Regions from separate parts of the Homo sapiens genome. Here region 2 is linked to region 1. The links are contacts of gene promoters, found by promoter capture Hi-C in human tissues and cell types (Jung and others, 2019). All regions are on one chromosome and are shown on one strand. The core of a region is centred on a gene start or on the middle of the fragment in contact, and the rest is flanking DNA. Distances in the headings are between cores, read along the strand shown. Region 1 holds the start of DPPA4 (developmental pluripotency associated 4). Region 2 has its middle 36 kb from the start of LINC00488.

What was found. Contacts are between HindIII fragments. The study calls those that stand out against the background at their distance.
Region 2: a contact is called between a fragment that was not itself captured here and the fragment with the promoter of DPPA4 in region 1, in 2 of the 25 tissues and cell types used here (H1 embryonic stem cells and mesenchymal stem cells).

The regions. Positions count from the first base shown.
Region 1 is chr3:109,335,008-109,340,037 of GRCh38, reverse strand. DPPA4 (developmental pluripotency associated 4) reads left to right here and starts at 2,492. Exons shown (of 7, transcript NM_018189.4): 1 at 2,492-2,574. The coding sequence starts at 2,521. RefSeq lists enhancers at 561-1,168, 2,387-2,994, 2,995-3,603, 3,604-4,212. The HindIII fragment of the contact is 13,883 bases long and covers 1-5,030 here.
Region 2 is chr3:109,211,644-109,216,673 of GRCh38, reverse strand. No RefSeq gene overlaps it. Among named protein-coding and RNA genes, the nearest start is that of LINC00488, 36 kb to the right of the region's middle. The HindIII fragment of the contact is 5,873 bases long and covers 1-5,030 here.

The DNA.
Region 1 (5,030 bases), core at 1,243-3,742:
TTCAGTTCATTTTACACAATTAAAAAACTTTTTATAAAAAAAGAAAGCGAAAAGAAAAAGCTGGGCTTAGGGGTGCTGGCCTTTAGTCCCAGCTACTCGGGAGGCTACAGCTGGAGGATCATGTGAGACCAGGAGTTTCACCTGGGACCAGCCTGGGCAATATAGGGAGACCTCTTAAAAAAAAAAAAAGGAAAAGGAAAAATAAAAGAAAACCCAACCAGAATACCCCTAAATCTCTCAAATTCATTCCTCTCCAACTCTTTTTTTTTTTTTTTTTTTGTCTTTTTCTTGAAACAAGGTCTCACTATGTCACCCAGACTGGAGTACAGCGGCATGATCACACTGCAACCTCCACCTCTTGGACTCAAGCGATCCTCCCACCTCAGCCTCTCGAGTAGCTGGCACCCCTGCGCCACCACGCCTGGTAATTTTTTGTATTTTTGGTAGAAATGGGGTTTCACTATATTGCCCAGGCTGGTCTTGAACTCATGAGCTCAAGCGATTCTCCTGCCTCCCAAAGTGCTGGGATTACTGGCATGAGCCACCACGCCCTGCTCTTCTGATCCCAACATGTGCTGTGCCAGCCACTGTTTTCTCCAGACACTGTTTTCTCCAGACATGCCCACAACCCTCTAAGTAAAGGCTATTATTTTCATGACTCTCATTTCATGGATGAGAAAACAAAGAGACCTAACGTTATTGCCCAGGTCACACAGCTAGTGAAGGGGAGGTTGGGTTTAAATCCTGTCTGGCTAGCTGCTAAAGCCTTACATTTAAAAATGAATCAATCTGGCCTGGATTTGGTGTCTGTGTTTTTATGTTTTATTTTTATTTTATGTTTTATTTTGAGATGGAGTCTCACACTGTCACCCAGGCTGGAGTGCAATGGCACGATCTTGACTCACTGCAACCTCTGCCTCTCCAGCTCAAGCAATTCTCCTGCCTCAACCTCCTTGGTAGCTGGGATTACAGGCACGCACCATGCCCGGCTAATTTTTGCATTTTTAGTAGAGAAGGGGTTCTGCCATTGTTGGCCAGGCTGGTCTCAAAACTCCTGAACTCAAGTGACCTGCCCACCTCAGCCCCCCAAAGTGCTGAGATTACAGGCGTGAGCCACCATGCCCAGCCCAGAACTCCAGTTATTCTGAATGTTACGTTCAATTACACTGACAAAAGAAAGATGATTCAGTTATACACTTTATACACAAACCTTAATTAGAAAGTCCTACTGGTGGTTACCAAAGGCTGTGGTAAAGAATTGTTAAATCAAAGCCCTAATATCTCCCAGATGACCTCAACTCACCTGGTTTCCTCTTTGCCGCCTTGGGGGTTGCCCAGTCCACAACCTGCACTTCCTTCTCTATTCCTGGGCTCCGTTTACTTACTTTTTCTGTCCGTGGATTTCTAGCCTGTGAGCAGATTACTAACACCATTTGGATAAAGACAGTCTCTTATTTATCATTTTAGGACAAGCAATGAGATGTAGGAAAAAAAAACAACAAAGTAAACCAAAGAACAAAAGAGACTTTGGACCCTGACAAGGGAGGGTTTCAGTCGCACAGCCACTGCTTCCTTCACTTCACATCTCTTGACAATCTGACAGGGAGCACTGATCTGAGGAAAGATTTTTCAAATTATTTTAAGGAGAAAAACTTGAACTTCTTTGGGAGTCAGTAGGTTAGGGGTTCACTTACTGTGCTATTGAAAAAGTTACCAATAAAAATTTATACCAACTTTAGTCATATATAAAATGGGGAACAATAATGACTGAATTTAAAACTCACAATTTGAGATATAAAAAAATACTCGGGCGGGGAGTGGTGGCTCACGCCTGTAATCCCAACACTTTGGGAGGACAAGGCTGGAGAATTACTTGAGGGCAGGAGTTCGAGACCAGCCAGGTCAAAATAGCCAGACCCCCCCACTTGCCCTCTACAAAATAAATAACAAATACTCTATAGACTTTAAAAGCTACTATTATTAGTTCGTTGGCAGATGAAAAGATGCTCGGTATTAGTACAGAGAAACCTGGAGTTTTAGTTGGTTGAGTAACTTACTTAGGAAATGGAATGTATTTGGTACGAGAAAATAGCTTTCTTCAAGCCGCCAGTCTGGTCTCTGAAGTCTACTGTTGCCACAAGTTCCATTATTAAATCCCTTCACACATCCTGCTCAAGTCTCTGGCCACTGTTTTTTTGTTTTTTGTTTTTTGTTTTTTTTCCCCGTAGAATCGTTCTGAAGGAGTGCTCAATCTCCCAATGTCTCCGGAACCATACTTTGGATAATTACATTTAAAGTGAACAGAAAAGGGCCAGGAATAGTATTAGTAATTCAACCCAGACAAAAGTCACCCCATGAATAAGAAAGAATGCAATTTTAGCATTTACAAATTGTGGGGGAGGGAACAGAAGGGGAGAAGAAAAGAAGAGGTGAGGTGGAGAGAAAAAGGGTCTTCGGGCGGCAGGAAGTGGGAGGAGACTTTGCAAATAGCAATCTTGGGGCAGGGGCCATTTTGGAAGCATGTTGCGAGGCTCCGCTTCTTCTACAAGTATGGAGAAGGCAAAAGGCAAGGAGGTCAGTACAGTTTTAGTGGATTTGTTTTCTGTCTGTCTTTGTGTTTCTGTCTTCCCTGGGCACTCCTGATTTTTCCTTTAAGGAGAAAAGAATGTGCCTTCGAATTTTCTCCTCTTGACTTTTTTTTTTTTTATTTTAAGAGTAAGGCCCAAGAATATGATTGCAGCCTGGTATATTGGAGTGAGCAGACAAGTAAGAAATGAGGTTTTCTAGGTTTAGTTGAGGAGGTTGAGTGTGTCAAAAGATGGGGAAAAAAAAAAAAGAGGCCGGGCGCGGTGGCTCACGCCTGTAATCCCAGCACTTTGGGCAGCCGAGGCGGGCGGATCACCTGAGGTCGGGAGTTCGAGACCAGCCTGACCAAAATGGAGAAACCCCGTCTCTACTAAAAGTACAAAATTAGCCAGGTGTGGTGGCGCACACCTGTAATCCCAGCTACTCGGGAGGCTGAGGCAGGAGAATCGCTTGAACCCGGGAGTCGGGGGTTGCGGTGAGCCGAGATCGCCCCATTGCACCCCCAGCTTGGGCAACCAGAGCGAAACTCCACCTCAAAAGAAAAAGTTAAAAAATTAGGTTTTCAGGTTTGTGTTTTGGAACAGGGTTTCACTTTTGTCTCCCTGGCTGGAGTGCAGTGGCACCATCACTATTCACTGTAACCGCCCAGGCTCAAACGATCCTCCCACCTCGGCTTACCAAAGTGCTACTGGGACTGCAGGCGCCCGCCGCTGCTCCCGGCCCGGGTTTTCTGTTTTGAAGAGGTGCTTAGTCCTGTCAGAAAGAACTAACTGAATATGGGGGCTAGAGGGAAATGGTAACAGGAGAAAAGGGTGTTAAAGGAAAGATTTTAGGAAGAGGTAATTGAGCTGAGTTTGGAAAAGAATGAAACCCCTTAATTTCCTTTAGACGGACACAGATCCTAAACCGAGGGTGCTGAGAATGAATTCGTCCCCTTTTCCCAGCGTCCTTAGGACCTAGGAGTAATCAGAAGCCAGACATTGGGAACAATGCAGACAGAAACTGAAGGAAGAGAGGATTTAAGACGTTGCACAGGCACTGAACGGCCATATCCGAGCGCTCTCAGGTCCTCTTGACTTGAACTGGGTCATTTTTAACTGTCTCGGTTTTAAGTCTTTTGTGAGGTCCAAAGTGAGTACTTTTTGTAAGGTTTATGCAAATATAAATTTCAAATCAAAATGTAGAACTGCTATAGAGATGTAAAAATGCCATACAAATGTTAATTTGTCCAGTAATCCACCCTGAAAGTGAAGAAAAGGATTTAGATTTAGGAGAAATTTTATTATATTAATTTTTTTTTTTTAATGAGTTTGACTCTGTCGCCCAGAGTGGTGTGCAGTAGCCGATCTCGGCTCACTGCAGCCTCTGCTTCCCGGGTTCAAGCGATTCTCCTGACTCAGCCTCTCGATTAGCTGGGATTGCAGGCACGCACCACCACGCCCAGGTAGTTTTTGTATTTTTGGTAGTGACTGAGTTTCGATATGTTAGCCAGGCTGGTCTCGAACTCCTGACCTCAATCGGTCAGCCCACCTCGGCCTCCCAAAGTGCCGGGATTACAGGCGTGAGCCACGGAGCCTAGCCTTTATATTTAAATTTTAATTTATATCTAATGTACCCCTAATCTGTGTCTTTATGTTACCTCTGATTCTCAGCTTCTGTGTCTGAGAAGTAATTGTTGCCAGATTGCTATGAGAATTAAATGAATGAAAAAAGGAAGGCCAAGGCCAGGCACAGTGGCACACGCCTGTAATCCCAGCACTTTGGGAGGCTGAGGTGGGCGGATCACTTGAGGCCAGGAGTTTGAGACCAGCCTGGCCAACATGGTGAAACCCCCATCTCTACTAAAAATAGAAAAATTCAGCCGGGTGTGGTGGCAGGCGCCTGTAATTCCAGCTAGTGGGGAGGCTGAGGCAGAGAATTGCTTAAACCGGGGAGATGGAAGTTGCAGTGAGCCGAGATTGGACCACTGCACTACAGCCGGGGTGACAGAGCGAGACTCCTCTCAGAGAAAAAGAAAATAGGGAACCCTTGGGCGCAGTGGCTCGCGCCTTTAATCCCAACTCTTTGGGGAGCCAAGGCGGGAAGATTGCTTGAGGCTAGAAGATTGAGATCAGTGGGGGGAGACATAGGGAGACCTCACCTCTACAAAAAATTATCCTGTAGTCCCACCTGCTCAGGAGGCTGAGGCAAAAGATCACTTGAACCCGGGAGGTAGAGCTTGGAGTGAGCTATGGTCCTGTCACTGCACTCCAGCCTGTGTGACAGGGCAAGACCTTTTCTTTAATAAATAAATATTTTTTAAAAAAATGAAAGTGAGGAGCATATCAAAGCCAATGCCTAGTATGAGACAGAGGCTCAATATATGTTACTGTCTCTGGATTAAACAACTTTTCCCCACTCCCACTTTGCTTCCTTTAATTCAATGAACCAATATTTATTGAGTG
Region 2 (5,030 bases), core at 1,226-3,725, 120 kb after region 1:
TTCAGAGAAGAAGGGACATTGAAGCTGGATTCTGACAGTTTTTGTCAGTCACAGAGGATCAAAAGGCGTTCCAGGGCAAGAGACCGGCATGCACAAAGATGTGGAGTTATAAAAGCCATTACGTGTTCAAGCAGCTGCTATGCTCTGTAAATTCAGTATCTGAGGAATGGAATGTGATAGGAAGAGAATGGTAACAAGATATAGATAGAATCCATATTTTGAAGCTCCTTTTATACATATGCTTTTAAAGGGCTTCATCTTCTCTTTCCTAATGTCTCTTTCATTTATTCATTCATTTCTTTTCTTCAGACAAATATTTATCGAGTGATTGTTATGTGCTAAACACTATTCTTGGAGCTAGTATTAGAATAAATACCTTGAAAAACACTAGTGCACTACTCTGTTATATTATCCAGCAAGAAATAATGTGAATCTCAAAGAGTGTATTACTGGTCCAAGATCACATGGACCGCTGGTTGGAAGTCATTGTTCTGAAGCTCAGGTTTTTTGACTTCCAGTGCTTTATTGACTCATGTGTTGGCTGCAGAAATGTGCCGCTCAAATTTCCTTTAAGAGAAGCTGCTATGAGGAGCGTAGTTGATGACAGCCTCTGGATGCCACCCTTTTAGATCCACTTGGTGTTCATGAAAAAACCACACTTTCTTCCCCTGCTTTGCGCCCCGAGACAATGACTGAGCATTGGTGAGGATAATAGTATTGGCTTATTCCAGGAATGGGGAAATTGATTCAACATTAGTAACTCTGTTGATATAATTCACCTATGAGAAGAACAAATAAGAGAAATAATATAATCATATGTATAATATAATATAAATCATAATATAACAAGCACTGAAAAAACCTCAATCAATTAAAGACTTTATGGACACATTTTAAACTAATAGTCACTTTTTAAAAGCCAGCATTATGTTTAATTAAAACACACTGGGAACACATTAAATATGATGCTAGCTTTTAGATGGTGACTATTAGCTTAAAATGGGTTTATGTTGTTCCATTAATGTCAAGAAGAAGCCAGAGTGTCTACTATCTCTACTATTTTATTAACATAGTCCTGACTATACTTGCCAATGCAATTAGAAAAAAGAAATGAGTTATATATATGTTTGAAAAAAGAAAGTAAAATTGTTTTTGCAAATGTTATACTTGCTTACATGGAATACACAAAAGAATAAACTAAAAAATTATAGCAAACAGTAGGGGAATTCATAACTACTTGAATACAATAATAAAGAGTAATCAACAGCTTTCTTAGGTACAGACAATAACCGATTAGAAGATATAATGAAAAAAATCATCACATTTACAATAGCAACAAAAATTAATTTCTAGAAATAAATGTAACAAGAAGTGTATGAAATCTACACAAATGAATGGAAAAACATACATTTTCTTAAATACAGAGATTCAATATTATAAACATGTCAGTTCTTCCTAATTTAAGTAATAAGCTTAATTCTCTTACTGTACCAATAAATACAGTAAGAGTATTTATTGTTTATCTATGCATTTGTTTTTGGAACTGGAAGTGTTGATTCATACAGAAAATTTTAAAACATCAAGAAAATTCTTGAAAAAGAGGAGTAGCAAGTTAATTACCCACCCAAATGTTAAAATATAGCACTACTGTAATTACATTAATATAATAATAATTACATTAATTTTTGCATGAATTGACAGGCAGATAAATGGAATAAACAAGACAGTCTGTAAGTAGATCCAAATATGTATCAGATGTTAATATATGGCAAGAATGGGATAGAAAGTCAGAGGGTAAGCAATGTAATGGCAATTACTCTTGCACCAAACTAATAATAAATGGTATTGGGACAACTGGATAGCTATCTGGAAAATAAAATTAATTTTGGATCCTTACCTCATTACTTACAACAAAATTCCAGATTTTTCCAAGATGTACAAAGAAAACTTAAAATATAAGTATACTAGGAAAATACTATATATGTATACACATAGGTGTGTGGGTATGTGTGTGTTCGTATGTGTGTGTATTGGGAAGACTTTTCTAAGGTTAATCCAAAACTAAGAAATCATAAAAGAAAAAGTTGATTAATTTGGCCACATATAATTACAATAAAATTGTCATGGCATTAAAATACCTTAAGCAAAGACAAATTAGACATGACAAACCAGGAAAATATATTTGTTTGCACCTCATGACATAGAACAAAGGGTATGTTCCTCAGCATATACAAATAAATATGTAAGAAAAAGACCAATAATCCAATAAAAAATGAACACAGTATAAAATAGTTTGCATTAAAGTAAATACAGATGGGTCTGAACATAAGCAAAGGTATTTACTTTATACATAATAAAAATTAAAAATTAAAACTATACTGAGGTGCCATTTTCCCTTGTCAATTTGGCAAAGAAAAAAGAAATTTGATAGCATACTGTATTGAAAGAGTGTAAGAAAATAGCATCTTATACGCTGCCTTTGGGGATACAATTTGGTGTAAACTCTGTAAGAGGCTATCTAACAATATCTATCATAATTACAAATGCACATACCCATTGATCTTGCAATTCTACTACAGGAGTTTACCTACTTATATACTCAGCACACCTTAAATGACAAACTTAAAAGTATATTCATCATAGCATTGCTTGGAGTAGCAAAAAGATTGAAGGCAGCAGAAATATTAATATTAGAGAACTGGTTAAATAAAAAAATAAAAATAAATAAATTATGTACAGGCATGGCATGAGAAACTATGCAACCTTCATAAAGAATAAAGCTACTCTATATGTATTGATTTGGGGCAATATCCAATATGCAATGTTAAAAGAGTAAAGAATATTGTATATAATACTTTTTTTTTGTTCTACACACACACAATTTCATATGCATAGAATATCTATAAAGTGGTAAAGGTGGTTACTTTAGGGAAGGAAACTAGGAAACTAAAGACAGGAGAGATTAAAAAAACTAAATTTTGAATCTACAAATTTTTATTTTTATTTATCACTGTGATATGTTACATATATACAATTCTCACTACAACACTAAGCATGCCATTCAGTTCAGCTCATATTTTCTTTGTAAAAAGACTTTCTCAATGAAGGAAGCAGTATGTTCATTCACATCTGGCACAGCTCCTTATCCTGTCACAGATTGCTAACAGTTTGCTGACTGGCTGCTTTCAGTAGTGGTAGTGAAGCCATTTCTGAAGCAGGGAATATATGCCTATACTTATGGGACTCTGGTGACTTGACCTGTATTTGTGATGCTGGGGTGAAAAACTAGAGTAATAGGAGTGTGAGAGTAGGAATTGTGGTGGGTGGTGGGCACAGCTGGTAGACTTTGTGGAAAGGTAAAACTTGCTAGCAACTTTTAACCTTTTTACTTAGCTTGGATGAAGAAAGGCATTCTGGATGTCACTTTGTATTCTGCAGAAGTATAAAATCAGAAAGTTAACCAGAGCTTAGAGTTCTCTCTGAGGAAGCAAAATGGCTAAGAAAACACAGCAGTAATTTAATGTTTATAAAGACTGGACTGAAATAACTACAGTATATCAAAAGCAAATAACTGCTGAGGAAATTGGCATATTTTAATTTGGTTCAGACTGTATTTTACATGTTCTGGGTGTACTGTGATGTATGAGTTTGTATGTAGAGCTTAAATGTATAATTAATACGGCTTTGAAGCTAGTTCTATCTACATGATTAAAATTTATCATGGTATTAGCTTTCAGACAGAGACTTTTTCACAAGTTATAGTCAATGCTATAAATTAGATCTTTTCTGATGAGCTCTGAACAAAGGACTATAATTTATCTCAATGGTATTTTGTTACAGGCATTTTAATTGCTGTGGCAGGTGAAAAACACCATTCAATATTTTGACCAAACTTTTTTTAATGAAATTATTTGCTTCCAGTACCGTTGGTTTAAAGAACATTCTGTCTTATTGAAGATGAACTAAAAGTCTTTATTTATACATATGACTCAACCTCACCTTGAATACTAGGCAAATCTACTTAGTGGGGAGTTTATTCCATAAAGAAGACCAGGAATCTTTTAACATTTGTAAAGGGGTTGACAGGTTGGTCCTTGCAAGTGTATATCAAAAAGGAGAAATTCCAGATTTCTTTTTCAGTGGTCTATAAGTGAAGAACTGGGAATTGATTGCTGGCAAATAAATTATGGGTGTGGCACATTTTTTGCTTTCCAATTCTTTTTTTCTGATCACATAAGTAATATATGCTTTAAAAAAGTTATAGAAATGTGCAATTTCAAAAAAAAAACTTTAACAATAATTTCTCTAAGAGATAACTACTATTAACAATTTGGCATACATTCTTCCAGAAATTTTCTACACAAAATACTTTTTTTCCCTCTTAAGACTGTGGGTCTGATGCCAACAATGTCTGAATTTTTCCTCCTCTGCCTGCTGTATTTTATCACATTTGCCCACCCCCCACAGTTTCAATTACTTTGTTGGAATGATATATTATGCAAATGTATCCAAAAGTCCCAGTTCCTGGGCCTACGGACAGATTTCATGCCAATGCATCTGTGCCTAAGAGCGGATTTTAGATTTGTGCCTGTGCCCAAGTAAGGACTGGGTGCCAGCTTGTCAAAGCTTAGCTGAGTACAGACCACCATGCCATGAGTTAGGCTGCTTCTGGTGGTTCCATTTCCTCCAACCCAGACGGAAGTATCTGGTTGAGTACAGTGCTGGAGGGCGGTGTCTTTATTACACTTCCCCACATTCGGTTCAGTGGATTAAGCAAGGTTTCTTACTTCGATTTCACCCTTGTCAAAATGATTACCAAGCTTATTCCATCTTGGGTTGTATGTTTCCCAGCTTCTAATGGATGATTTTTATGGTTTAGTACTTGACCACCAATTCAGTAGACACTAGTGAGAGGCTTTAAAAAATGTCTTAGAAAACAATCTTTATTCAATGTGATAGGTCATTTGGAGTAAATACCCATGTATAGAGGGACTGAAATTAACAGTCTAAATGCTCAGCTGCATTTAGTG